Regions from separate parts of the Homo sapiens genome. Here all the other regions are linked to region 5. Evidence: promoter capture Hi-C in 16 types of primary human blood cells and fetal thymus (Javierre and others, 2016). All regions are on one chromosome and are shown on one strand. Each heading gives the region's core, a stretch centred on a gene start or on the middle of the fragment in contact. The rest is flanking DNA. Distances are from core to core; before and after follow the strand shown.

Region 1 (3,341 bases), core at 767-3,266, 330 kb after region 5:
CTTCATCAAATCCTTGTAAGGATTAAATGCAACCAAGCATATATGTTTAGCAAAGCTTCTGACATCTAGTGAGCTCTTAATAAAGGTGCTCTATTCTTTTTAGATAAAATAGAAATAATAATATCCACCTTAGAGGATTGCTGAAATGGTTCAAAGAAAAAAGGTATGTGAAAATTCCCAGTTCAGGTTTGACATTTAGTAGAATCAAGGATGATTTCAGAAATATTATAACCACTGTTGGCAGCAATCTAAAAGGAGATGTGGAAACGGCCACAGAGACAGACTGCTACATCCCAGCTGAATATCAGCACTTAATGGAAAATACTAAATAAATGTGATTAATTTTTTAAAAATGAAGTTAGGTTGTTCATCCTTTCCACCATCTTGTACAGAACAGGAACTCCAAAACAAATAGAAAGATGAGAATGCCACAAGAGACGTTCAGATATGCGGCTGTGGGTTATTCCATGGAAGGCAAAATCCATCCCAGGGGGATTAGCTTCTAGAGAGGATTCCAGGAGGTGGGGAATATCACCTGGGTTTTGAAGCCCAACTAGAATTTGGCCATGCAAAGATGAGAAAGAAAGCACTACACATGTGAACAAACATTTTGTGAGTGACAACGCAGTTTGACAGAAGCATAGGGCAAGTGACAAAGCAGTTTGATAGAAGCACAGGATGTTTGCAGAAGATTAGAAAGAGGTAAGCTACAAAAAAAAGTGAGGCTGAGAACATGGCAGCCTTGAATGCCAGGCTAAAGAGCTGAGGCTTCATTTTGTAGGCACTGTCTGCTCCCCAGCACCCAGCGATGCAATCACTCATTGCTGGTGCTCAATAACTAGTGAGTGAATGGTGGCATGTCCTTAAATAAGGCAGGATCTGGATTGTGAAGAAATAAATCCATATCCCACTCACAGTCCTCTCATTGCAGACATCAGCAATGATGCTTGTTGAATGGAACTGGTTGTAGAACCAAGTGGTTGGGCCCTTGACATCACAGTTTATTTCTGGCACCTTCAATCCATCTTTATGAACATTCATGGACTGTCATCCCCCCAGGCAACCCCTCCAATTCTCCCATCACCAATCCTCAGCCCTCTCTTTCCATGCCACTGACACCAGAGCTCAAGGCCTCATCTTACTTTTTGTTGGAGCTCCTTAATGGTCTCAAAGTGTGAGCAGTAATTGGAGCATATGTCAGGGCACTGCCGTTTGCTCCACTGCTGGCTCTCAGCACCACCCCTGCTTCTCATTCTCCTGCTCCAACTGCTGCAACTTCTGCAAGCAGTTGGCCAGGCACTCACTTAAGAACTGCATGATCCCTTTCCCACTGCTGCTGAGGATGTCTTCACTGAACCAGCCACAGGTGCCCATACTGGCAGGGATGTTCCTGGTCCCTGGCAGAGGACAGGCAGAGTGACTGCTGGCAGGGCCAGGCTGGACTGACTGTGAGCCACAGGTTCTAAGGAGATGGCTACTAGGTTGGTGACTCTCTTACAGGTGGGCCCCAGTCTTAATACTGGGATCTACAGACATTGGGTACAGAGTTTCTAGAGTGGTTTCTGGCCACAGCCTGTCTGGAGCAAGGAGGCTTCAAATGGCTCTTGCCAAAGCTTGAGGAGCAGGGATTTCTGCTTTAACTAGAAGCCATGGTCCTAGACAGTTGAGTTGCAGATTGGTGACAAGGGCCAGGTGCTCAGGTGTGAGTGTTTCCTCACCCAGAGCTTTTATTCACCTGCCATAGGAGCAGATGTGATACACAAGCTTTCCCCCAATGAATCCTCATTTGTTCTGCCATCAGAACAACCCATCAGCAGTTATTCAGTCCTCAGAAGTAGCTCCCCACTTTATGAAAGAAAGGGCTGACTTTGGACTTCTTGTTACTGCCTTCTGTTGTGAAAAGAAATGTTAAATGTTTTCTCTTTAGAGATGCCCCATTGAAAAGTTAGACTTTGTTCCTTGAGTGACTATCTGGCCTCTCTCTAGGAATGGCATTGGCTCTAAGATGAATCGTCCTCTCCACTGACCTTCAATACCCAAAAAAGTAAAATTCTCTGATAAGAGCCTCAGGAATCCCTAAAGAGCAATAGAGCAAAGACTGCTAAGTTATTAGAACTAAAGAAAACTTCCAAGTACTAATTCAACCTTTCGTGCTTCAGAGACCAGAGAAGGACAGTGAGCTCCCCAGGGATGCCAAGCAAGTCAGATACAGAGCCAGGACTGGTCCCAGGGCCCCTAGCACATTCTGTTTCCTCTGCACCAAGATGGACAAGCTTTTTCTGTTAAAAAGACAGATGCTAAATATTTTAGGCTTTGCAAGTCGTATACTCTCTTTGTACTGCAACTACTTAGCTCTGCCATTGTAGCACAAAGCAGACATAGACAACAGGGAAATGAATGGGTGTGGCTATGCTCCAATAAAACTTGATTTACCAAAACAAGTAGCAGTGGGGTTTGACCTGTGAGCTGTAGTTGCCATCCCTGCTTCACACAGCACAGTGAATGAGGCTTAAAAATTGGACCCCTTAAGCATGTGGGAGACCTTCAGTCCGCTCTGGAGCCAGAGGGCTGGGCAGAGGGAGGGCACCTGGGAATGGATGGTGAACTCCAGGACTGGACGCTGAGCCTCAGACACCAGGGCCTTCACTCTACCAGGGCATTTACACCAAGACTGGAAGTTCATCCAATGCTCTTAGAGCAAAGCAAAGCTACCCATATGTTGTTGTTGCTGCTGCTGCTGCTGCTGTTGTTGTTTCTGAAACTTGGGCTTCAGAATGGCTCCAAAATATGACTCAGCTGCCATTGTAATTGGGGAAAGTCAGAAGAGAAGAGAAATTTGTTGCCAAAGCATGTTTTCTTTACTCAACATTCATCAGGCACCTACAATATGCCAGGCATCATGACAGGCATTTTTATATGTACTATATCCCAACAACTCTGTGAAAAAGGTAGAATTACTCCCATTTCTAAAGGGGAGAAGACTGAGATGCATAGAGATTAAGAGTTCTGCCAAAATCACACAGCACATTAGCAGCAGAACTGGGGGTCTAGCCCAGTTTTTCTGAAGCCAAAGGCACTGATCTTCTCCATTAATCCTAGATGCTCATTGGTGACTTTGTTTACATATTATGATTAAGGGACACTGCTATTTAAATACAAATTTGTCTTGATCAGTTGGGCAAAAAGATAGACATCAAATGATCTTAGGAACTTTCTGTTTAGCCGAATTGATATCATTGCATTCAAGTGTTACATTTTATGAAATACAGGCCGGGTGCAGTGGCTCACGCCTGTAATCCCAGCAGTTTGGAAGGCCAAGGTGGGTGAATCACCTGAGGTCA
Region 2 (3,092 bases), core at 291-2,790, 380 kb before region 5:
AAGCTGCCTACCCTACCCTGCCTTGGCTCTCCCGTGGAAACCCCAATAAAGGCTCTGGTCTAGGCTCTTTCTCCTCATTCCTTTCTGCCTCCTGGCCCACATCGGTGCTCCCCACGTGGTCTTGCACAGAATGACATGCTTCCTTCTCTGGGAAACGTAAGTAATACAAATCTTTAGTGGCACTGTCCCCTCTGTATTGTCACTCAGTTGTGCCTGTAAATTAAATCCCAGGTATCATCTTAATACACAAGCTCCATGAAAGCAGGGGCCAGTTTGTCTGGATTCCCCTAGATTCACACTCCCATAGGATTGAAGTGGGCACTGTATTGATATCTGTTGACCAAACTAATGGATAACAGACATCAGTCATCCTTTGCTCAAACTGATGTATCCACATTTTTCTACAAAGATTAAAGGAGAAATGGAACCGAGTTGGAATTATTTCACACAAAAACTATGAATACACAGTTTTTAGTTAATATTTGTAAGCATTCTCCAAGGGGCAGAGTGATAGGTGTTTTAAAAGAACAAATCAGAAATGTTTGCAGAATAAAGGTGGTGACTATGAAATATCAATTTCAATGCTATCTTCCACCTTCTCTTAGATTATCCCTAACTGAATATACATCCACCATTTGGGCAGTTTTATTACCTGTGCAGGTCTATGCGGATATAACTTTAAGCTTAAGTAAGGACAGATGCAATATTATAAGATTTGGTTTCCCTATGAAGTAAGACTTTATCTAGTAAGACATTAATGTAAATACCTGAAAATCTCATAATTGCTATGAACCAAGAATTAGCAATGACAGAAGCCACAGTGGCAGATGGAAGAGAAACAGCTTTGCTAGGGAGCCATGAAGACACACTGGCTACACTGTGTTAGTGGAAGCTCTGGAAACATCTCCAGAAAGTTGTTTTCTTTCTGCAACATAGTAATTATTCTATTTCAAAAATCACTTTCCAAATGAAGTAGTTCTATTACTGAATAAGAGTCTTATTTTTGAGAACATTCTTGATTATTGTTATTAAATGGATGGGAACAGTGGCACAGAACCCAAGGGGCATAAAACCAACAAAGTGTTTTCTATTTGGCGGGGAATGTCTTTTATGCACACATTTGTTGGGGCTGCATTGTTTGCTCTGGGAACTCAAGACAAACAATGCAAACAAAGTCTCCTGACTTACCTTAACTCTCCTCCCTCCTGGGTTCCTCCGACCCTTTTTTTTTTGTTTTGAGACAGGGTCTTGCTCTACTGCCCAAGCTGGAGTGCAGTGGTGTGATCATATCTCACTGCAGCCTCCATCTCTGGGGCTCAAGTGGCCCTCCCACCCCACCCTCCCGAGTAGCTGGGACTACAGGCACTCCACACAATGCCCGGCTAATTTTTTTTTTTTTTTTAAAGTAGAGATGAGGTCTTGCTATGTGACCCAGGCTTGTCTAGAACTCCTTACTTCAAGCCATCCTCCTCCCTCAGCCTCTCAAAGTGCTGGGATTACAGGTGTAAGCCACCGCTTCCGTCCTAACCCTATTTTCTAATTCATGTCTATCTGCATCCTCATCCACTGCTCAATGTGTTCCTGACCTCGGGTCTTCATTGTCTGCAGAGTTCTTCTTTCTGATCGACTTTCAAGGTATCAGTGGTTACCTCTCTCCTATGCAATCCAAAACCTCCCCTCCTGCTCCAATTCTTTCTCTTAGAAAATTGATTGATTGTTCTCACCTTCGTGCTTGTGTTCTAAGCTAAACTCGCCACCTTTCCATTCCACTGAATCCCTTTTCAGTTTGCTGCATCTCTCAATAGCATCGTTATTTTCTAGTCATTAGTCACTTTCTTTACTTAAAATATTGGTATTATTTTTGTCATCTGCTTAAAAATTTTTCATTGTATAATTTCCTGCATACAAAAAATTTAGAAATTGTGTAGTTTAAATAATAAATAATAGTAAAACATACCTGTATCTTAGAGACCCTGCTGTTTCTCCCCAGTGATATCTCCCCTATTACTGCTCAGGTGTCATCACTATCCTGAGTTTTCTTTATTACTTGCTGTGAAATAATAAGAAATATATAGTTGGCCTTTGTCTCTATTTCCTGGCACACAGCTTCTAAAATCCTTGTAATTTCCTCAGTGATAGAAGCATCTTTTCTTGTCCTGACCCAGAGCTCCTAAATCCTTTGAAATTTCTTGTGTGATAGGAGCATCTTTGGTTCTAATGAGGTGACTCTTGGTGGGCCGCTAAGTAGCTTTAGGATGGGGGCTGGCTGCCAGAAAGACCAAACCTTGATGAGAAGCCTAGACATTTCAGCCCTAACCCTTCCCCACCCTCCAGAGAGGGGACAGAGGCTGGAGACTGAGTTAATAATCGATCATGCTTACATGATGAAACCTCAATAAAAGCTTCTAAATGAGGGGGTTCAGAGAGTTTCTGGATTGGTGAACACATCAAGGTGCTGGGAGGTGGCCCACCCGGACAGGGCATGGAAGCTCCGTGTTCCTCGCCCCTGACCTTGCCCCGGGCATCTCTTGTATTCAGCTGTTGCTGAGTTGTATCCTTTATAGTAAACCCACAATAATAAGTAAAGCACTTACCTGAGTTCTGTGAGTCATTCTAGAGAATTATTGAACTTTGCGGAGGGGGAGGTTGTGAGAACCCTGAATTTGTAGCCATGTCAGACAGAAGTGTGGGTAACCTGCGGGCCTGATACTTGTGGCTGGTATCTGATGTGAGGACAGTCTTGTGGGACTGAGCCTTTAGACACGTGGAGTCTGACACTAACTCCAGGGTGTTAGTGTTAGAATTGAATTGAATTGTAGGACACTGAGTTGGTGTCAGAAGGGAAGAAAACCTTTCACCTGCCTTTAAAAAAGGTTTTGCTATCTACATATGCACCTCTAAACAATATCTTGTTTAGTTTTTCTATTTGGAACTTTATACAATGGAATCCGCCTTATGCACTCTGCTGGGACTTGCTTCCTTCATTTGGCTTTATGATTCTGTAACTCATCATTGTTGATGTGTGCGGCAGTTGTAGGTTGATTCTCTGGGAAGCAGAGTCAGAGCTGAGTTCAGTGTGCAGGGTGCTTATT
Region 3 (3,132 bases), core at 289-2,788, 360 kb before region 5:
ATTGTTGTCTATTGCTCCCTTCATACCTGTTAATGTTTGCTTTATATATTTAGGTGCTCTGATGTTGGGTGCATATATATTTACAATTGTTATATCCTCTTGATGAATTGTCTTCTTTATCATTACATAATGACTTTCTTTCTTTTTATAGTTTTTGACTTAAAGTCTACTTTTCTCTGATATAAATATAGCTACCTTTGCTCTTTTTTGTTTCTATTTGCATGGAATATCTTTTTCCATCCCTTCACTTTTAGTCTATGTGTGTCCTTAAAGCTGAAGTGAGTCTCTTGTAGACAGCATACAGATTTTGTGTATGTGTGTGTGTGTGTTTGCCTTTTTAGTACCCTTAGCTATTCTGTGTCATTTGATTGGAGAATGTAATCCATTTATATTCAAGGTAATTATTGATAGGTAAGGACTTACTACTGCCATTTTGTTGTTTTCCAGTTGTTTCGTAGATCCTTTGTTTCTTTTTTCCTTTCTTGCTGTCTGCCTTTGTGATTTGACAACTTTCTCTAGTGGCATGCTTTGATTCCTTTCTCTTTCTCTTTTGTGTATCTACTATAGAATTTTGCTTTGTGGTTATCATGAGACTTACACTGAACATGTTAGAACAGGTTATTTTAGGCTGATAACTTCAACTGCATTCAAAAACTTTACAGTTTTACTACCCCTCCATCTATTTTTTTGATGTCACAATTTATATCTCTTTATATTGTGTATTCCTTAACAAATTATTGTACTTATAATTAGTTTTAATAGTTTGGTCTTTTAACCTTTATACCAGATATAAGTGATGTGTACACCACCATTACAGTAGTATATTCTGAATTTGTATATTTACCTTTAACAGTGAGTTTTTTTAACTTTCATATGTTTTCATGTTGCTAATTAGAGTTCCTTTGTTTCAACTAATTGACCTATCTTTATCATTTCTTGTAAGGGAGGCAATGAACTCCCTCAGCTTTTGTTTGGGGATATCTCCTTAATTTATGAAGCCCAGACTTTTCTGGGTATGATATTCTTGGTTGGCAGGTTTTTTTCTTTCAGCACTTTGAATATATTATCCTACTGTCCTGACTTGCAAGGTTTCTGTTGAGAAGTCTGTTGATAGCCTCATGGGGGTTCCCTTGTATGTAATCAGTCTCTTATCTTTTGCTGCTTTCAAGATTCTCTCTGTCTTTTGGCAATTTTTAAAAAATTTTACTTTAAGTTCTGGGATACATGTGCAGAATGTGCAGGTTTGTTACATAGGTATATATGTGCCATGGTGGTTTGCTGCACCTATCAACCTGCCATCTAGGTTTTAAGCCCCACATGCATTAATGTGCCTCAGAGTGTTTGTCTTTGGGTTGATCTTGCTTGGGATCCTTTGAATTTCGTGAATCTGTATGTCCATATCCCTCTCAAGATTTGGGATGTATTTCTTTACATAAGCTTTCTTTCCTTTTCTCTCTTTCCTCCTTCTGAAATCCTCATAATGTATATATTTGTATGCTTGGTGGGATAGACTAGATCCTGTATGCCTTCTTTACTCTTTTTTATTATTTAAACATTTTTGTTCCTCTAATTCAGTAATTTAAAATGCCCTTTCTTTGAGTTTGCTAATTCTTTCTTCTGCATGATAGAGTCTGCTGTTGAAGCTTTCTATTGAATTTTTCAGTTTTGTCATTGTATTCTTCAGGTCTAGGATTTCTGGTTTTATTTTTATGGTTTCTATTTTAAAAATTAAGCTTCTCATCTTGTTTATGCATTGTTTTCCTAATTTCATTTAGTTATTTATCTATGTCTTTTTGCATCTTATTGAGCTTCTTTAAGATGATTATTTTGAATTTTCTTTCAGGCAATTTGTAGATCTCCCTTTCTTTGGGGTCAGTTACTGGAGCCTTATTAGTTTCCTTTGGTGGTGTCATGCTTGCCTTATTCTTCATTATTCATGTAGTCTTGCATTGGTATCTGTGCATTTGAAGGCACAAATACCTCCTTCATTTTTTTTTTTTGAGACAGGATCTTACTCTGTCACCCAGGCTGGAGTGCAGTGGCGTGATCTCAGCTCACTGCAATCTCTGGCTCCCAGGCTCAAGTGATCCTTCCACCTCAGCCTCCTGAGTAACTGGAATGACAGGCATATGCCACCATACTCAGCTAATTTTTATATGTTTTGTGGAGATGGGGTTTTGCCATATTGCCCAGGCTGGTCTTGAACTCCTGAGCTCAAGCCATCCACCCGCCTCAGCCTCCCAAAGTGCTGGGATTACAGGTGAAAGCCACCACACCTGGCCCTCTTTAAATCTTTATAGACTGCTTTTGGCAGTTTAAGGCCTTCTTCTATTAGGTTCCTGTGGTGATGGGATTGTGGTCAAATGAGGTTGGAGCTGGATCACATGGCTATTGCTGAGTCCACAGTGGGGTCTATAGTTGATAGGTCTGTTACCAGGGGCTGTAGTAGCTGTGGATTCTGTGTAGTCTCTGGGTTGACTGGACTGTCTGTAGAACCTTGGTCCATAGAGCTGGCACTGGGATGAGAGTCCATTTCAAGATCTGTAGATGATGGGCCATTACCAGGTGTGTGAGTGGGTGTGGCTTCTTCTGTGTCTCTGGAAAGTCTCCCAGTGGATCACTAAGTGAGACCCTGGGTATGTAGTGCTGCTCAAGTCCATGGCTGAGACAAGTTAGAACTGAGTTTTGGGGCTGCTTTAGAGCCTGTAACTGAGACTGAGCTCTTCAGACCTGTCTTTGGGGTCACAGAAGGGTATGTTTTCTGGTGGGTCCCCGGGCAGGCAGGCTTGCTCTCAGACCACAGTTGATAGAGGCTGGTGCTGAATTACAGGGCCATTTCAAGATCCACAGCAGGACCAAGATCAGTGGGTCAGGCTATAGGAGCACTGATGAGCATGTCTGTCTCCAGGTCTTGTGTGCGCAGCACTACTCTCAAGCCTCAGCTGAGAGGGGCTGGGACTGCTTTTCAGGGCCATTTCAGGATCTTCTGTGGGACCCAGGTCAGCTGGGCTGCCTGTGGAGCTCAGATGAGAGTGCCTCCCTCTGGATTCCTGGGCAGTTAGAACTTCTCTCTGACCACAGCTGAGAAGGGCTAGGGCCCAGATTCAGGTTTGTTTTAGGGATGCTGTAAAA
Region 4 (3,347 bases), core at 809-3,308, 430 kb after region 5:
GCTCACAATTCCATCTATTCCCAATCCCTGCCACAGAATAGGCACCCAGTGAAGATCTGTTGAATGAATGAATGAATGAATGAATGAATGAATGACTTGAAGAGGGGATGAAAATAGACAGGAACTCCAATACGAGATTTTCAAAAACAGGCAGGTGAGGACCCACCAGGCCTTACCTCTCCTCACGATCTTTTAACTTCTTGTCGTACTATTTCTCCTGGGTTTTATTTTGTTGTTGTTGCATCATTTCTTGAACTTTCTTTCTGGTTTCACAAGAATTCCCTCAGACAATCCCAGTGGATCTCAGTCTAGTAAGAGGAACAGAGAAAGGAACTGATTTTATTCCTGTTTGGGCCTGAGATGGGGAGTGCTTCAGAGCCTGAAGCCAAGAGGCTGCAGCAGCAGCAGCAGCCTCCACAACCAAGCAGGACACTCCAAGGGGCGGGGACTCGAGATCAAAGCTCTAGAGATTTGGGTAGATATTTGCGGACTGTTAGAATGATATGAATAATAATAGAGACCCTCCTCTGTCATCCTCCTCCCTGCACCGTTTGCTCATTCACCCATTCCTTCCTTTGACAAGCACAGACCCAGGGCCTTCTAGGGGGAATCTGAGATCCCAGGAAAGAATCTACCTGTGCCAGGTCACTCGTCTTATTCTCAGCTCTTCATACAGTCATTGCTTCCCACGTAAGCCTTTTTTCTTTCCTTTTTTTTTCTTTTCTTTTTCTTTTTTTTTTTTTAATTTAGAGACAGTCTCATTCTGTTGCCCTGGCTGGAGTACAGTGGTATGATCATGGTTCACAGCAGCCTCAAACTTCTGGGCTCAAGTGATCCTCCCACCTCAGCCTCCCAAGTAACCCAGTAATTAGGACAACAGGTGCATGCCACCATGCCTGTCCAATATTTTTTTCTTTTTTTGGTAGATGCGGGGTCTTGCTCTGTTGCCCAGGCTGATCTCAAATTTCTGGCTTCAAGTGATCCTCCTACCTCAGCCTCTCAAAGTGCTGGGAATACAGACATGAGCCGCCACACCCAGCCCACATAAGGTATTTTTGACAAGCCTCTGCTTATGGGATTTGCTAGCCTCTGTATTCTTTTGGGGCTCAATAATTGCTCAAGGCCATAGAGAACAGGAAACAGAGCACCAGCTTTGGAGCCAGGCCAAACTGGAATTATATCTTTGCTTGATCATTTACAAGCTATGTGACCTTGGACAAGTTACTTAACCTCTCTAACTTAGAATTTCCTCATCTATAAAATGGGCTTCATAATCCCAGTGTCCTTGGATCAGACTTCCTAGATTCAGTTCCTGTCTCCACTGCTTAGGAGCTGTGTGACCTTTTCAGCAAGTCATTTAATCTCGCTAAAAATGTTTCCTCATGTGTAAAATGAAAACAAGGACAGCATCATGAGATTGCTGTGAAGATTAGATACAGGGTTTATTCCCTTATCTTATATAAAATGCTTAGCGAAGTGCCTGGAACATTATTAAGTGCGCAATCAGTGTTAGTCCTTGCTCCTTCCTTGTGGACAATTGTTCTTACACTTAGTCGCCCAGCTCCTTTGTAAAGGAATTCTCCCTCTAGTGTCTGTGCCTCCTGGCTATAGAAGCCAGAAATTAGCCTTCCAGCCTCCCTTGCAGCTGGAGCACAGACACATGATCAGTCACACACATCACAGAAGCCTGTAAGCTGGGAGCTAATGTCCTAAAAAAGGAGGCACCTGGTGGAATCCATGCTGGAAGGAATAACTGCAGACCTCCAGTTTCTAGAAGCAGCAGCGCCACAAGTTTGGTGATAGCGCCAAGTGGAATGGGCTACTGAATCTGCACCTGCAGATAGTGGCAAGGGTGGGCTTGCTCCGGGCTGTGCTGCCTTCAAACCTGTTCCCTGCGAGTTCTTCCTGGAGAGTCTATGGCTTACCTAACATCCTTTAACAAACTGGCTTCAGAGTGTGGCTTCTGATCTTTGCAGGCAAAAACCCTGATGGCTACAGAATTTAGTAACAAGTGTGATTACTGGCATGAGACTTCTAAAAGATCTCCGTTTGGGTGTCCAAAAGACAATGTAAATTTAGCATGTCTGAAACTGACTCCCCATCTTTCATACCAGCCAACTTCCATCCCACAACTCCTATCATCCAGTTGCTCAGACAAAAGACTCAGAGACCTCCTTGACTTCTTTCTTTTACAATATGCAGTCCTTCAAGAACTCCTGGCAGTGCTTTCTTCAGATGATGCTCAGAATCCAGCCACCTCTGACCGTCTTCACTCTGAGTGCCAGGGGCTCTTCACCTCCCTGCACACTGGGCTCTCTGTTTCTGCTCCTAGCCTCGCAGCCTCTCATCAAGTGGCCTGTCACTCCTCTGCTCAAGGCACTGTGTGTTAGGATGATCATCAGCACTAGCTGCTGTGCCTGGAGTGGTCCCCACACACGCTTGACTGCCTCCCTCACTCCGTCAAGTTGATACAGAAGGGCTGGGCTCCTGGCTAAACCCTACCCTTAAGCCTGGAACCTCGGCCCTAAAGGACCCCATTTTCCCCAAAAATGTTACCTTTTTGGCCTGCCTGCCCACATGCTGTGCCCATAAAAGACTTCAGCTGGCAGAGCAACACAAGCGGCTGAGCACTGAGGATATAAGCAGCTGAGCGGCGAGCAGAAAAGCAACTGAGCATCGGAGACTGTGGATAGATCTGGCTAACTTCAGATGGTGCAGCTTTGGAGAGGGGCCCTGCCGGAGACGGTGGGGCTTCAGGGAAAGATCACCATCCCATCACCTTTCCATCCTCCCTTTCCACTGAGAGCCACCCAACACCCAGTAAAGTATTTTGCATTCGTCACCTTTCAAACAGTTTATGTGACCTGATTCTTCTTCCTGGACGCCAGACAAGAACCTGGGTGCCAAGAAGGCAGGGGCTGCCACCCTGAACCTCCATTGAACTGGTTGGTATTTGGCCATCCCCTGACAGCACAGCTGAAAGAATAGGGACGCTGCTGCAGGGCCCGAACAGAGCCTGCTCCTGCCAGAGAGGAGCAACCGGCTGGTTCCAGCGTTCATTTGCTCCGGTTCCCACACTTGCTCACACACTCACTCCCACAAGGAGTGGCCAGCAACAGGCTGAGTGAAACAAAGTGCTCCTTAGCTGGGCGTGATGGTGTGTGCCTGTAATCCCAACATAAGAAACCCCATCTCTACTAAAAATACAAAATTAGACGGGCTTGGTGGCCCGTGCCTGTAATCCCAGCGACTCGGGAGGCTGAGGCAGGAGAATCACTTGAACCCGGGAGACGGAGGTTGCAGTGACCTGAAATCTCACCACTGCACTCCAGCCTGGGCAACAGGGC
Region 5 (3,014 bases), core at 148-2,647:
AAATTATTTTTTAAAAGATGATGAGTTGTGATCAATCTTTCAAAACGTTTCCCCTGTTGTTATATTCATGGATATTTCATGACTTCAGCTTCACTCTTTTTGTCTAAAGAATACAAAATGACTAATTGATTTGCCTAAGCCTGAAAAGACTTTTCTAGAAAAAAACTAGGCAGTGATCGATGTCAGTTGACCTCTGTTAGAAGGTTGACTAATCTGTGCTGTGAGCCCTACAGGTGTAGTTAAATGTAATCACCCAGGACCTAAATATAAAACCCTTTTTAAAAAGAGAATAAGAATCATATTCAATTTTCAGTGCCAATAGAATAGAGGTTTATTTTGGTACATGGAAATAACAAGGTACAAAAATGTTTGCAAAAGACTTTAAGAGAGAGACTTCACTGGACTTCAAGGTTGGAGGCTTTAAGATCTGTGGCCCTACAAATGATGGAGGCAATCTTCAAATTCCTTAGGCATGATGAATAAATGTCCTGAAGTCAAAGAGGTGGGAGGATGTTGGAGGACAATTTGTCAATTTATTAGGAGATTGTCAATGAATTCCTTTGGAAGGAAGGGAGTTTGGACAAAAGGTAGAATGCAAATACAGAATTTCTAAGGATGAGGTTTGCTTATGGGACCCAGATCAATTCTCTTGAACAGTCCGCATGTTTGCAATGAGAGCCTTCATCTGTAGGAAAGGACGTAATAAGGAAGTGGTGTGTTCACAGCAGAGATTTAGCAGCAAGAGGAGGCACAGCACAAGGGGCGGGGGCAGGTGGAGATGACACAGGTTGGGCGATAGCAAGTGGTGTGGCAGGAGACTCGGCCACAGACTGGACGCAGGCAGCAGCAGGGGCGGCAGCAGCTGGATTCACAGCAAGAGGGGCAGCAGCTGCTGGAGATGCAGCAGCTGGGGCGGCAGCAGGTGGGCTGGCAGCACACAGACTGGCAGCACTGGGGTCTGCAGCAGCTGGACACACAGCAGCTGGGGCGGCAGCAAGTGGTCCTGCAGCAGGTGGTCTGACAGCAGCTGGGGCGGCAGCAGGTGGGCTGGCAGCACACAGACTGGCAGCACTGGGGTCTGCAGCAGCTGGACACACAGCAGCTGGGGCGGCAGCAGGTGGTCCTACAGCAGGTGGTCTGACAGCAGCTGGGGCGGCAGCAGGTGGGCTGACAGCACACAGACTGGCAGCACTGGGGCCTGCAGCAGCTGGACACACAGCAGCTGGGGCGGCAGCAGGTGGTCCTGCAGCAGGTGGTCTGGCAGCAGCTGGGGCGGCAGCAGTTCTCCAGGCCACAGCCCTGGTCAGAGCACACAGAGCCACAACAGGAGTTGACCATGGTGTCAGAGGGTGGAGGTTCTCGGTGGGTTTCCAGGAGAGTGAGTGTTCTGAGTTTGATCTCTCCTTGTTCTCTCTTTTGCTTTTTATACCCTGCTGAGAACCACTATGACAATGTGAATAATCTTGTGGTTTGCACATTACTAATAGAGAATCAGTTGTTTTTTAGTAAATTAGATAGTTGTCCTTATCTGGTAAATATTTCTATAAATAGAAAAGGCAACATTTCCTTTTCCTGTTGTATTCTGAGCTATCCAATTTGGTTAAGCCAAGTGAATCAGCTCTCATTCTCCTTCCTTCATCTGATGTGTCTTCTGATGTGTAGACCCATTACATGACATTGTTTGATTGGATTTCATAAGTTAATTCTTTATTTATTTGACTCCTGGATAATAAGTTGAAAATAGATTTTATGATGACTAAATCTCCTCTGCTCTCAAAGAGGTTAAAAATAAATTACATAGAATGCTGGTAGGAAAATGTGATGAAAGATTCATCTTTGGGGGGTGATAGGAGGTAACTTGTGTATAATAAGGAACACTGTGATTCCTTTGAATTTTGTGGCTGGTCAGTGAGATATAAAAGATCCCACTGAAATTCCTGTTTCATGTTATTGACTCTATTTAGCTTGAAACAGATATAATGCAATGATTCATTGCTTTACAAGTAAAAATACATTGGCATGATAGGTCCCTTTATAAATTATTGTTGGCATGTTCTTCAGAGATGGGGATCATAAGGAACATTTTTGTTCTATTTTGTTGGTAAGTCAAGATACCCACTGAATGTGTTTAACTGAAGTGTTATTGAAAGTAGATTTTCTCATACTCGAAAGCTGCTTTTTCTCACAATGTATGTTGGAGATATTTTGCTTGATACATGGAGAAAAGAAACAAAGGATCAAGTTTAATTTCTGTCCTACAGAAGCTTAAACAAGACAAATAAGAAACATGTATAGGAAAGAATTTAGCAACTATTTAGAGAATGGTGTGATTAGTGAACAAAATAACAATTATGTATTTAATCTGTACACTTCCAATGAAAGATGAAACAATACTAATAGTTATAATTTTTTGAGTGCTTACTATGTGTCAGGAATTTTCTGAGTCCTCTATAATTGTTATCTTGTTTATACTTCACAAGGATTCTGCTATGTAGACACAATTTTTCTAAATTCTTTACATCCAAGGTACTTGAGGCCCAGATAGATTGAAGTCACACAGTCTGTAACAGGGAAAGGGCGTCTCTCCTAGAGTGTTCAAGGAACATTTTGCGCATGAACATTTTGCAATTAAATCCCTCCTGATATTTAAAAACAATTATTTATAATTAAAAAGATGCAAGGTATGTTCTCACTCCTAAGTGGGAGTTGAACAATGAGATCACATGGACACAGGGAGGGGAACATCACACACTGGAGCCTGTCGGGGGTGAGGGACAAGGGGAGGGAGAGCATTAGGACAAATACCTGATGCATGTCGGGCTTAAAACCCAGATGACGGATTGATAGGTGCAGCAAACCATCATGGCATATGTATAACTATGTAACAGACCTGCATGTTCTGCACATGTATCCCAAAACTTAAAGTAAAATTTAAAAAAAAAAAATGTATGGTAAGAAACCATCATAAACAAAGTAAAAACACAAATGACTAAATAATAAAAAAAGAACTAGCA
Region 6 (3,201 bases), core at 410-2,909, 470 kb after region 5:
TTATCCTGATGACACTGGAGCCACTGAAGGGTCCTAAGCTGGTGAGTGATGCTGTCGGATGTTTCACAAAGGCCACCCTGGTCTCCATGCAGAACATACTTTGCCGTGGTGTGGGGGACCAGTAGGGAGAATTTGCCATATCCAGGTAAGGGATGTTGTTGGCTCAGACCTCTCCTCTCCCAGGAAGCCCCACCCCATCAGCTCAGGTCACCTGGCTTTCTCCCCATCTCTCAGACCTCCCACTGCCTCTGTGATCTGTGCCCCCACCCTTGATTATACCTCCCCATAGTGCCTTAGGGGGCCACAAAGTGTTTTTCACATAGTCAGTCCTCAGTGTTACTCTGGTCTGATGCAGGAGACACAACCCTTGCCCGTGGGCTGTCCAGTCTGATGGAGGAGGGTTGCAGAGCCCAGAGTTTTCCCTGTGCCATAGGCTGAGGGGAGCCAGGAGCACAGGAGCCACAAGGTGGGGTGGATTAGCACACAGAAGTTTTCTTGGAAAGGGTGCGCTTTGACTCAGGTTTTGAAAGAAGGAAGAACCCTGGAGGGTGGAGTGGGGAGAGGGCGTGGCTGTGGGAACTCCAGCACAGTGGTGAGTTGCGGGGAGAGTCAGCACCTGGGAGTCGGAATGTCTGTGTCAGGAGTCCTGAGCTCTGGTCGGCAGGACAGAGGGAAAGGGAAAGAGGAAGGGAAGGGGTCGCCGAGTAGTTCTAGCCTCATGGATAGAAAGAGTCATTTCCCACAGTCAGAGATGTGGGAACAGATTCAGCATCTTGCACCCCACCTCCCTCCCCCAGACGGGATACCGCATGGGATCAAGGAAGGAGCAGGGCCTCCCGATCAGAAAGACCAGCTTTCAAGTCTTGGCTCCATCACTGACGAGCCATGTGACCTTGGACAGGCCATTGCAGCCGTCCAAGCTTTGGTTTTCCATCAAATAGGAATAGAACCAGTTCAGCCTGGCAGGATTATTGAGAGGAGTGGGTAAGTCAGCGCAGGTGGCCAGCATGGTACTGGGCACAGAGGAAGTGTTTGGTAAAAGTTCACTTAAATTAAGCCCAAGTTAGACCAAAGGGAGTGGGGGATGCAAATGGAGAACAGGTGTCAAGGTTCAGCCAAAGACCTTGAGGCAGAGAACAGAGAAGAGTCCAGGATGTTACTGGAGCTCCTGTTGCAGGAGCTGGGAGCTGCTGAGGTCAGCCGGCCAGGTGATGGGCTGGTGAGTCTGCAAGGGCCTGGCCAGGGTGGAGGCTGTGGGAATAGGGCAGGCCTGGAAACTGATGAGGAAGAGTCAGCGGATGGTTTAGGTGTGAGGGGAGAAGGCCTGGGAGCTTCCAGCAGGGCCCACATTCTGTGGCTGGAATGAGGGGATGGGGAAGCAGCCTCTCAGGTTTCAATGAGGCCATCCTGGTTGTCAGTGCAATATTTGCAAAAAAATGACCATTTCTGTCTCCCAGTTCCAAAAGAGGGCATGGATGGCTTATGATAAAAGACATATTTATAATAAAACTAAAAATATCCAGCAAGGATAGAAGAAAAATAAATCAAGAATTAGGTAACAGGATATATTGATGGGCACATTTTGGTTGCAAGCAACGGAAACTCAGCTTGAATTAGCTTCTAAAAGAGGCAATTCAGGGCTGGGCATGGTGGCTCACACCTGTAATTCCAGCGCTTTGGGAGGCTGAGATAGGAGGATCACTTGAGCCCAGGAGTTCAAGACAAGCCTGGGCAACATAGTGAGATACCATCTCTACAAAAATAAATAAATAAAATAATTAGCCAGGCATGGAGGCATACACCAGTAGTCCCAGCAACTCAGAAGACTGAGGTGGAAGGATTGCTTAAGCCCCAGCAGGTCAAGGCTGCAGTGAGCCATGACCACAGCACTGCACTCCAGCCTGGGTGGCAAAGTGAGACTCCATCTTAAAAAAAAAAAAAAAAAGACAATCAATAAAACAATAAATCAAGCCCCAATTTATAACATTTATTTTTTTCGTGTTGTAAATACCCCCACTGTGGCCAATTTCAAGCAACCAACAGGGAGTCACTTAACACAGGGTTGGGAAGAGACGTGCAGTAGCTCACTGCCTTATAGCATGTCCACCATATGGATAAAATGGTCATAAGTACCTCAAGAGCACAGATATTAGTACAATGTAGTAAAATAATTTGGAAGGAATGAGTTTTCAGTATGCATTACCTTTGTTCTCAATATAATTCATTTAATTTTAAGTTCGTATAATTTAATTTTTGATGAGGGCCATATTTAACAATCACCTTGCAAAATTCCTGAAATTTTAATGTCCAGCTCTCAAGAGCCAGCATGAGCCAGCTCCAGCGTGCCAATGAGCCTCGAGGTTTAGGCCATAAGCAAGAGACTAGGAGGGACAAAGGGAAAGCTTCTGGATAAAACAAAGTGAAAGAGGGAAAACCAGATTGGGGGAGGATATTGGTGAGGGAAGGGGAAGAAGAGTTGGTGGGCCCCCACGGTCAGGGAGACAGCCTAGGTGGACAGGAGCAGAGGCAGCATCCAGAGGCTGTGCAGCCTTCACAAGGCAGACCAGGCACTGTCTGCCTCCCAGGGAGCCACATGGGAGCCCCATGGGGGTATCCAAGTCTGTGCTGCCTCGTTATCTCAATTATCTCATCAGTGTTCTGTTGGTTGTTCTCTCTGTCAGCATCTAGCGAGGACTGTTCTACTGCAGCACTCAGTGTGCATCTGTCCTTTGACTGTCCCAGCTTGAGTGATGTCTGTGTGTCCCAAGACTTTGGTTACTCCCCATCTAACTTAACCCATATGAGCAACACCCCCTTCAAAGAACTGGAGGAGTGATTGGGGGAAAGGAAATGATGGTGCTGGGGGTGTTGGAGGTACTGGAGGTAGTGGTGGTGGTGGTGGTGGTGGTGGTGATGGAGATGGAGATGGTGGTAATGATGGTGGTGATTGTGGTGGTCATGGTGGTGATGGTGGTAGTGGTAATGGTGGTGATGATGTGGTGGTGGTAGTGGGGGTGGGGGTGGTGATGGTGGTAATGATGGCAGTGATTATGGTGGTGATGGCAGTGATGGTGGTAGTGGTGATGGTGGTGGTGATGGTGGTGGTGGTGGTAGTGGTGGTGGGGGTGGTGATTTCAGTGGTGGTGGTGGTGGTGGTAGTGGTGGTGGGGGTGGTGATTTCAGTGGTGGTGGTGGTGGTGG
Region 7 (3,027 bases), core at 274-2,773, 350 kb after region 5:
AGCTCTCACACCCATCTGAGGAGGGCTCGTTGTACACCTCACCAGATGCCAAGAGCACAGGAGCACATGCACAAGCCTCCTAAGGACAAGAGCCTTAGCATTCGGGATAGAAGCCCTGAAGGCGAGCACACTCTCCATCTCCTGCTTATGATGGGCTGTGGATTGTTAAGGGGGTTGCTGAACTTGGAGGGCTGCATGAAAGGGCTGCAATGGTAGGGGGCTTATGTAAATGCACCCCTAAAAGTACCCTGGGAGGGAGACACCCTATCGCCGGTCTTACAAGGACCACAGACAAGAGGCTGATAAAGTGGCCTAAAACCCTCCCTGTTATGCTGATCTCAGTTTCCATCTCAGTTTTGTCCCTCCCACTCTGGGATCCCCAGGTGACCACGTATACTAAGAGGGATTCCACAGCAGTCTGAAAACACCTGGCACCACACTGGAATCTTGGAGAAAGGTCTTCATCAGGGAAGCCAAGCAAAAGCTCTCACTGTAGGCCTCTACCCACCCCAAACAGGGGCATAGTGACCCTGTCATCCAAAGGGTCATACTTGGTCACACATCTCCCATTCGGCTGCCCAACAGTCACCCCCTGGACACAGCAGAGACACAAGCCAACAACACCAGAATGGTGCAAGTTAGGCATCAGGGGCCTGAGCAAATGCACTTTATTGTTCTGCCAACAAAAGCCCTCTACTGCATTTCAGAATCCACCGGAACAGCACCTAGAAGGAAAACCTGACCCAGGAGGCAGCCTGAGAACAGAGACCCTGGCACCCATTGAAATGATGAGGAGTTGAGACCTTTGGGGGCAGCCGGCCTTTGTGACAGGCTCTGAGAAACTTTAGGGCATGTATTTGCAGAAAGCCTTTTCAGCCAGACCCTGGGCCTGGGCTCTGCGCGAAGAGAGGGGATTGGGCTACAAGGGTTAAGTTTGGGTAGAGGCCAAGTTCAAGCCCTGGAGACAATAGCCATGGCCATCTGGGTCACCCGCTCTCAGAACCGACCCCCTGGGCAGGGCACACAAATGGGGCGGGGGCTGCAGTTTGTGCGGGCTGCACTAGGACCGCAGGAGGCCGCAGGAAGACAGGGAAGGCATGACTTGGAGGGTGAGTAGTCAGGTGCACATGGGTTACAGGGGAGCCTAGAAAAAAGAAAACAAATTACTGTGATTTTCCAGTTGCTGTTTGCAGTAACTCAAAGTAGATCCTAGACTATGCAAACTGGGAAGCACCCTAAAAACCACCTTGATCCTGCCCCCTTGTTTTACCAAAAGGGAAACAGGCCCTGAGAGGAAAGGGGGCTTGCTGGAGTCACGTGATGAGTTTTCAGGAAGACCAGAACTAAGAGAACAGAACTCCAGACTCCGAATGCCAGGCTCTTTCTAGGCACCATGCTGTCTTCCCAGAACTTGGTAGATTGCAGTGAGAAGACAAGAGCACATGCAGTGATACTCACTTGCTGTCCTCACTCTCCAGCAGGCCCCGGTACGTGTTGATCTCACACTCCAGCCGGGCCCGGACGTCCAGCAGCACCTGGTACTCCTGGTTCTGCCGCTCCAGGTCAGCCCGGATCTCGGCCAGCTGGGCCTCCACGTTGGTGATCATGCACTGCATCTGGGCCAGCTGGGAGCTATAGCGGGCCTCCGTCTCTGCCAGGGTGGATTCCAAAGCATCTCTCTGTGAGGGCAAGAGTTGTGTAGGGAGGAAAAAGGCTAGAGGTCAGAGAAGGAGCAAGGAAGGAATCTTCCTTGGAGCTATAGCGGGCCTCCGTCTCTGCCAGGGTGGATTCCAAAGCATCTCTCTGTGAGGTCAAGAGTTGTGTAGGGAGGAAAAAGGCTAGAGGTCAGAGAAGGAGCAAGGAAGGAATCTGGGTCTCAGTGAGGCCTCAGAATCCAAGAACAGAAGCTCGGAGAATCAGAGTTTGAGCTAGGATGAACCACAATCAGACATCTCACTTGAGATGAGCTAATTAGCCCCTGTGGCTTCTTTGATCTAGAAAGTATCTCCCTGTTAGTGTCATCTCTGAGTAACTGATAGTTACTCAGAAGATGTATCTGCTTGCACAAATATAGGACCTACTGCCTGGACATGTCAGTTGCTACAGGTCTCTTGTCCTTTACCACTGGGGGATTTGTGACTGGAGCTGGTCCCTCATTCCCTCTTTTCTGCATAGAGAACCCCTGGTGCTCAAGAACATGGACCCCTGGAGTCCGCCTGTGTGGTCAAAGCATGGAAGCTGGGGAGCTTGTGTGCTCCTCGGCTTGGTCCAGAGGCAGCTCCACCCTGCCTTGGGGCTCACCATGCTGTGCTGAGCCTGCAGCTCAATCTCCAGGGCGTTGACCGTGCGTCTCAGCTCGATGATCTCTGCCTGGCAGGACTGCAACTGCTCTGAGCTGGACACCACCTGCTGGTTCAGCTCCTCACTCTGAAACATACACACACAGAACCTGGTCAGCCACACCAGGGACTTGGCTTCAGAGAGCTACAGAGGCCGGTTAGAATCATGAGCCAAGAAAGACATTCCCGATTCCCCAGTCCCACTCATTTATTTTATACTGGAGGGCATTGTTGCTCAGAGGACAGCAACCTGCCCAAGTGGGTCTGTTTTGACCTTGTCAGCAAGGTCAATTGAAGTGGGTCTGTTTTGACCTTGTCAGCAAGGTCAAAACAGAGATGGGACTCAAAGTTAGATTTCTTGATTCAGAGCCCCAGGGTCACTTCCATGTGAGCCACCACATACCCCTGTTGCACTGACTGTTTCCAGGTACCTACCTGGGTGTCCAACCAGTCTTCAGCATCCCGGCGGTTATTCTCCACCAGGGTTTCATACTGGCACCTCATCTCCTCCAGAACTCGGTTCAGGTCAACAGGTGGGGCAGCGTCCACCTCAACATTGAGGCGGTCACCAAGTTGGCAGCGCAGTGAGTTCACTTCCTATAGCACAGACCAGGATGAGTACTAATTCCCAGAGGGCTGCCTCCAAGGTTCACCTCCTCCTCATGTTCACCTCCTCCCCATGCTCACC

What was found. The method cuts DNA at HindIII sites, captures the fragments that hold promoters and counts their contacts. A CHiCAGO score of 5 or more calls a contact.
Region 1: a contact is called between a fragment that was not itself captured here and the fragment with the promoter of KRTAP4-12 in region 5, in 2 of 17 cell types (total CD8 T cells and total CD4 T cells). The highest score is 6.5, in total CD8 T cells.
Region 2: a contact is called between a fragment that was not itself captured here and the fragment with the promoter of KRTAP4-12 in region 5, in 1 of 17 cell types (erythroblasts). The highest score is 5.7, in erythroblasts.
Region 3: a fragment that was not itself captured here is called in contact with the fragment with the promoter of KRTAP4-12 in region 5 in 1 of 17 cell types (erythroblasts); the score reaches 7.2 in erythroblasts.
Region 4: a contact is called between a fragment that was not itself captured here and the fragment with the promoter of KRTAP4-12 in region 5, in 7 of 17 cell types (total CD4 T cells, activated CD4 T cells, naive CD4 T cells and 4 more). The highest score is 8.6, in total CD4 T cells.
Region 6: a contact is called between a fragment that was not itself captured here and the fragment with the promoter of KRTAP4-12 in region 5, in 1 of 17 cell types (activated CD4 T cells). The highest score is 6.8, in activated CD4 T cells.
Region 7: a contact is called between a fragment that was not itself captured here and the fragment with the promoter of KRTAP4-12 in region 5, in 2 of 17 cell types (naive CD4 T cells and non-activated CD4 T cells). The highest score is 5.0, in naive CD4 T cells.

Annotation. Positions count from the first base shown.
Region 1 is chr17:41,452,625-41,455,965 of GRCh38, forward strand. No RefSeq gene overlaps it. Among named protein-coding and RNA genes, the nearest start is that of KRT32, 13 kb to the right of the region's middle. The HindIII fragment of the contact is 509 bases long and covers 1,763-2,271 here.
Region 2 is chr17:40,738,642-40,741,733 of GRCh38, forward strand. No RefSeq gene overlaps it. Among named protein-coding and RNA genes, the nearest start is that of KRT25, 15 kb to the right of the region's middle. The HindIII fragment of the contact is 1,719 bases long and covers 682-2,400 here.
Region 3 is chr17:40,759,174-40,762,305 of GRCh38, forward strand. No RefSeq gene overlaps it. Among named protein-coding and RNA genes, the nearest start is that of KRT25, 5.4 kb to the left of the region's middle. The HindIII fragment of the contact is 206 bases long and covers 1,436-1,641 here.
Region 4 is chr17:41,554,104-41,557,450 of GRCh38, forward strand. It overlaps LINC00974 (long intergenic non-protein coding RNA 974), which reads right to left and starts at 392. Exons shown (of 3, transcript NR_038442.1): 1 at 177-392. The HindIII fragment of the contact is 4,431 bases long and covers 1-3,347 here.
Region 5 is chr17:41,122,785-41,125,798 of GRCh38, forward strand. It overlaps KRTAP4-12 (keratin associated protein 4-12), which reads right to left and starts at 1,398. Exons shown (of 1, transcript NM_031854.3): 1 at 307-1,398. The coding sequence starts at 1,338. The coding sequence ends at 733. RefSeq lists an enhancer at 525-1,078. The HindIII fragment of the contact is 5,176 bases long and covers 1-2,262 here.
Region 6 is chr17:41,595,220-41,598,420 of GRCh38, forward strand. No RefSeq gene overlaps it. Among named protein-coding and RNA genes, the nearest start is that of KRT14, 9.9 kb to the left of the region's middle. The HindIII fragment of the contact is 1,482 bases long and covers 919-2,400 here.
Region 7 is chr17:41,476,060-41,479,086 of GRCh38, forward strand. KRT35 (keratin 35) reads right to left here. Exons shown (of 7, transcript NM_002280.6): 4 at 2,775-2,936; 5 at 2,302-2,427; 6 at 1,459-1,679; 7 at 651-1,144. The coding sequence ends at 997. Among named protein-coding and RNA genes, the nearest start is that of KRT35, 3.6 kb to the right of the region's middle. The HindIII fragment of the contact is 6,798 bases long and covers 1-3,027 here.